2 separate regions of the Homo sapiens genome follow, and region 1 is linked to region 2. Evidence: promoter capture Hi-C in human tissues and cell types (Jung and others, 2019). All regions are on one chromosome and are shown on one strand. The core of a region is centred on a gene start or on the middle of the fragment in contact, and the rest is flanking DNA. Distances in the headings are between cores, read along the strand shown.

Region 1 (2,700 bases), core at 27-2,526, 49 kb before region 2:
GACACTTAGACTCAAAGCCACTCTGTCTTGCCACTAACGCCTACTTTCCCTGTCTTCCCATAGAGGAAGTTTAGGTAGCTGTGATGCTGTACAGTACCTTCCGCATTTCTAGACTTATATTTTATTCTTTTGCGATGGCACAGCACTTCCTCAGCCTTCCCTGACATTGTTACATGTTGCCCTCAACCCTGGAGTGTGGGCTTCACAAGGCGCTGGCCGACCTGAAATACTCGTCATACACCTGGGAAGCTGCAAGCAAGCCTTTGAACTCCAGTTTCTTCATCAGTAGAAGAGGCTGAGTGGCACTGAGTTTGGAGGATCCTAGGTTTGAAAAACAATGGTGGCAAGCATATAATAGGGGCTCACAAAGGAAACTGTTCTATTTGGGGGGTCTAAGAGCTAACAGTCTCAGAAGTGATGAAAAATGGCAGGAGGAGGTGAAGGCAGCTGAGTTCTGCAATAAACCACAGGAAAAGAAGGTAAGGATGTGGGGCCGACTCTCCCTTCAGAACACAGTCTACACCTTGAAATGTACATGATGCAGAGAACACTGCCATTCTTATGCATTTATCATCACAAACCAGAAAATCAAATAAAAGTAATCATACCATTAAAAATATAAAATAACATAGTATCGGGAGATGTTATTTTTCTAATTTTTAAACATATTTTATTGCACATACAAATGATCTGTTTAACAAACACCAAAGCTTATAGGGAAACCTGCTTGTTAAAGTCAGAGACAGAAGAAAAGGAAGAACGCCTTCGGGACACAGTCTTACTACAAATCCTCAACAGGTTTCAGTCCCCAAAGTTCTACTGGTAGAACTCAATATTCTTCAAAAGTCACACCCAGAACAGAACTGGCATGCTCTAATGAAATGAGATGTTAACTCCTCCTCCCCAGCGCCTTCTTCTAGAGAACTCCCAGAGGCCTTCCTGACCCTCAGCGCTACAGCAGATTGGGCGCAGAGTGGCTGTTCAGAGCTCCAGGCTCAACCTCCCACAGCGATCCTGTTCCCCGCAGCCCGCAGAGCCTCCCACACCTGAAGCGCACGTGGGCTGCCTGCTGGGTCAGCACTTGCTGCGTATGCCGGGCAGCCTGAGCACCAAGGAGGGGAACGCAGAGCCTCAGGCCGGCAGCGAAGCACACAGCTCTCCACGATAGCCTGTTCTGAATCCAGTCTGCGGTCTTCCTCCTAGTGCTTTTTCCTCCTGCTTCCCTGTCCCTGGAATAAGCTACCTGCACGGAAGCAGGAGACCTGTGAAAGAACCATCTCTCGGCAGCTGGGTGGGAAGGGGCCGCAACAGTGTATACAGGGGCTGGGCACGGTGGCTCATGCCTATGATCCCAGCACTCTGGGAGGCCGAGGTGGGTGGATCACTTGAGGTCAGGAGTTCAAGACCAGCCTGGGCAACATAGCGAAACCCGCCTCTACTAAAAATACAAAAATTAGGCCGGGCGTGGTGGCTCACACCTGTAATCGCAGCACTCTGGGAGACCAAGGCAGGTGGATCACCTGAGGTCGGGAGTTTGAGACCAGCCTGACCAACATGGTGAAATCCCATCTCTAATAAAAATACAAAAATTAGCCAGGTGTGGTGGTGCACATCTGTAATCCCAGCTACTTGGGAGGCTGAGGCAGGAGAATCACTTGAACCTGGGAGCCGGAGGTTGCAGTGAGCCAAGATCACGCCACTGCACTCCAGCCTGGACGACAGAGTATGACTCTGTCTCAAAAAAAGATAAAATAGAAAAAGCAAAAAACAAAAATTAACCAGGCGTGGTGGCACGCACCTGTAGTCCCAGCTACTCGGGAAGCTGAGGCAGGAGAATAGCTTGAACCTGGGAGGCAGAGGTTGCAGTGAGTTGAGACTGCACCACTGCACTCCAGCCTGGGCGACAGAGTGAGACGCCATCTAAAAAAAAAAAAAAAAGAAACCATGTACACAGGAAATGTGAAGATGGCATGAAAGCTGGGCTATCTCCAGATACATTCAAGCCCAAAGCTGACTCCTCTCTCCAAAAGGCAGCAGCTATACAACTCTGTCCCGGGCACTCAGAACAAAGAGGCAGAGTGCTGTGGCTGGCAGAGGCGGCAGGTGCTGGAAGCACACGACCCCCTCCAAAACACAACAAAGGTTCCGTAGTTGGAATGGTGCCTCCGCCATGGGGAGACAGAAGGTCCTCTGCAACTGCTCTGTAGGCGTCCTGCTCCCAGCCAGAAACCACTCCAACAGCTGCAAGACACTGCATCTTTTAAGGATGCACAAAATACCTTTACTGTCAACAGACAAGTACGTCCACGTCAGCCTGCAGAAGAAACAGGCTCTGGCTCTCGGGTTGAGGATGGTCCAGGGTTGTGAGCTCAGCTAGGACATGTGTGGCTGTAAAGAACAGACCATCAAGCCATACAGGTTTAAATGAAGCAATGTATTGCCTCACAAAACCAAAGGTCTACAGCAGTGGTTCTCAACTGGGGAAATTTTGCCCCCAGGGGACATTTGGCAATGTGTGGAAACATTTCTGGCTGTTACAACTTTGGGTGGAGGAGGGGGTGATACTGGCATCTACTGGACAGAAGTCAGGGAGGCCAGGATGGGAATAAGCATCCTACAGAGAGCTGGGCACAGTGGCGCGCACCTGTGATCCCAGCTACTCAGGAGGCGAAGGCGAGAGGATTGTGTGAGGCTGTAGTG
Region 2 (2,700 bases), core at 1-2,500:
AGTAACTTTTTTTTTTTTTTCATACGGAGTCTCGCTCTGTCTCCCAGTCTGGAGTGCAGTGGCGCGATCTCGGCTCACTGCCTCCCAGGTTCAAGCGTTTCTCCTGCCTCGGCCTCCCAAAGTGCTGGCATTACAGGCGTGAGCCACTGCGCCCTCCTGTAATTTTCTTCAGTAGTAGTTAGAATAAGCAATCTCTTGATCCCCGCCCCTCTCCTTAAGGAAGATGCTTTTAAGACCACACGCACGTATTTTATAACAAACATAAGCTCCCCGGGCGGGGGTGGGGGAACGAGAAGGCTCGCTTCCTTTTTGCCAGAGCCTATCAAAGCTCTGCATTACACAAATTGTCAAGTCCACCAAGGGCAAGCGCGCGCTAATCCTGTTTTAGCGATTCATTTCCTTTCCCGAGCAAATGCCTCCGGGCATCTATGAATGCGCCCTTTCAAGGAAAGCGAAAGCCCAAAGCGAGCGGAGACCGTTTCTTTGCAGAGAAAATGTTTCTCGCGTTGGAAGGAAAGCTGATGAACTCTAGCAGGGCGTTGCCCCCTCCCAGGAGGCCAGTTTTCCTGCACACAACAGCGGCTGACAGTTCGGGGAGGGCCCCGGGCCGCGCACAGGCCCTCACAGGCCGGCGGGCGGGGCGCGCTGTTTGTCGCCCGGGCCCGCCTGGGGCTCAGCGAATCACGGAAAGCGAAAACCGCCTCGCGGGAGGCGTGGGCTGAGCGCATCCCTAGGGGTCGGCGCCACCCTCCTCGGTCACTCAAGTGGACGGGTGGGGAGCCTGCGGCTGGCCACCTCCGCACCCTCGGAGCGCTCCAGGGGGCCCCAACCCAAGCCCTGCACCTACTCTTGAAGGCGACGGCCGCGTTGTTGACCAGTACGTTGAGCCCCCCGTACTCCTTGCGCAGGAAGTCGCGCAGGGCGCGGATGCTCTGCAAGTCGTCGATGTCCAGTTGGTGGAAGCGCGGGCTCAGGCCCTCCGCCTGCAGCTGCTGCACGGCCGCCTGGCCCCGCGCCACGTCCCGCGCGGTGAGCACCACATCCCCAGAGAACTGTCGGCACAGTTCGCGCGCGATGGCCAAGCCGATGCCCCTGTTGGCCCCGGTCACCAGCGCCACGCGGCTGCAGGACGACATGGCTGAGCGGGGAGCGCGGGGCACCTGCGTGGAGGGCGGACCGGGCTTCGGACCACCTGGGGCGCGCCCCGAGGAGCCCAGCTAGTGTCAATGCCGCCGCGCAGACTAAGTTCTGGGATCCAGTGCTGCGAGTCTTAAAGAAAAAGGCCCCGGCTCCGGTCCCTCCCCTCCGAGGAGGGGCCGTCTGTGCCCTCTGTTCCAACTCCCGGGCCCGCCCCCTGCCCACGCTGCGCCCTTCAGGATCCGGGCTCTGAGCCGCGGGGTGATCTGCGAGGTGTCCGAAGCCAAATCGGACCTTGATGGGTCAGTCGGGGGCTCCAGATTCTTGGCAACTGGACTGAAGAAATTATTTTGGGAAAACCCCAAAGTGAGAAAAACAAGTGCTGAGTAATTTTCTTGGGTGTGCGCCCATCATGCACTGCAAAATGCGAATGTTTGCTTTTTCCTAAGATGCAGTGACTTACTTAGACACAGTAACTGCTTCTCTGGACATAGGTTGCCTTGCTTGCTTAAAAGGAACTCAAGAGAGGGAACTAGATGCCCTGTGAGCGCACTTAGCAGGTGTGGGCAGGCGACATCGCTCTGGGATTCCCAGTGAATGTGCCCCCAAGTGGGAGGGAATGTTTTTATTTAATCCTACCTAACTCCTACGGGTGCTAAAAGTGTCTGCATTTAGGTTTGTCCAGGGAGGATATAGATCTATAAAGATCTGGATTGATCATATGTTCTCACAGATCTGTGTACCGGCAAAGAAAGTTAAACCAAATTCCCAAAGGTGTGTCAAGCTGTGGGCACAAAATTAGAGTCTCATCCATCGTCTTCAGTGTAAACTGAGTTGTTTGATCAGTGACTTTGAGATTTGGGGAGAACCATGACATCATCACGACTCAGCCTTTTCCATGCAGAGCTGGCTAACCCGCCTGTGTCTCTGTTACTCTGACTCTACCTTCTCTCTCAAGTCCTTACTTGAGGTTCCGGAGGTGGGCCCCTGCTGTGATCTCCTACTGTGCCTCCCCCAGTATTTCCTTCTTTTTTCTCCTAAAGATCATTTGGTCCGGGCGCGGTGGCTCACACCTGTAATCCCAGCACTTTGGGAGGCTGAGGCGGGTGGATTACGCGGTCAGGAGTTCAAGACCAGCCTGACCAACATGGTGAAACCCCCATCTCTACTAAAAATACAAAAATTACCTGGGTGTGGTGGCACGTGCCTGTAATCCCAGCTACTTAGGAGGCTGAGGCAGGAGAACTGCTTGAACCCGGGAGGCGGAGGTTGCAGTAAACCGAGATTGCACCACTGCACTCCAACCTGTGCAACAGAGTGAGACTTTTCAAAAAAAAAAAAAAAGATCATTTGGAACCTTGTTTTAAGGATATGGGGCTATTTAGGCTTTCTATTTCTGTTTTTTTTTTTTTTTTTTTTTTTTTTAATAGGGTCTTCTCTGTCGCCCAGGCTGGAGTGCAGTGCTGCAGTCGTGGCTCACTGTAGCGTCAGTCTCCTGAGCTCAGGTGATCCTCCCCTTTAGCCTCCCTAGTAGCTGGGACTACAAGTGTGCCACAGTCATGC

What was found. The method cuts DNA at HindIII sites, captures the fragments that hold promoters and counts their contacts. A contact is called where the count stands out against the background at its distance.
Region 1: a contact is called between a fragment that was not itself captured here and the fragment with the promoter of CBR3 in region 2, in 1 of the 25 tissues and cell types used here (spleen).

What each region holds. Positions count from the first base shown.
Region 1 is chr21:36,183,105-36,185,804 of GRCh38, reverse strand. All of the region lies in intron 2 of DOP1B (DOP1 leucine zipper like protein B), which reads right to left. LOC124905016 (a long non-coding RNA gene) reads right to left here and starts at 1,841. Exons shown (of 2, transcript XR_007067855.1): 1 at 1,799-1,841; 2 at 648-1,243. The HindIII fragment of the contact is 5,235 bases long and covers 1-2,700 here.
Region 2 is chr21:36,133,629-36,136,328 of GRCh38, reverse strand. CBR3 (carbonyl reductase 3) reads right to left here and starts at 1,250. Exons shown (of 3, transcript NM_001236.4): 1 at 848-1,250. The coding sequence starts at 1,136. The region is part of intron 2 of CBR3-AS1 (CBR3 antisense RNA 1); the gene reads left to right. RefSeq lists enhancers at 276-445, 281-1,087, 1,088-1,895 and silencers at 596-765, 1,196-1,265. The HindIII fragment of the contact is 7,591 bases long and covers 1-2,700 here.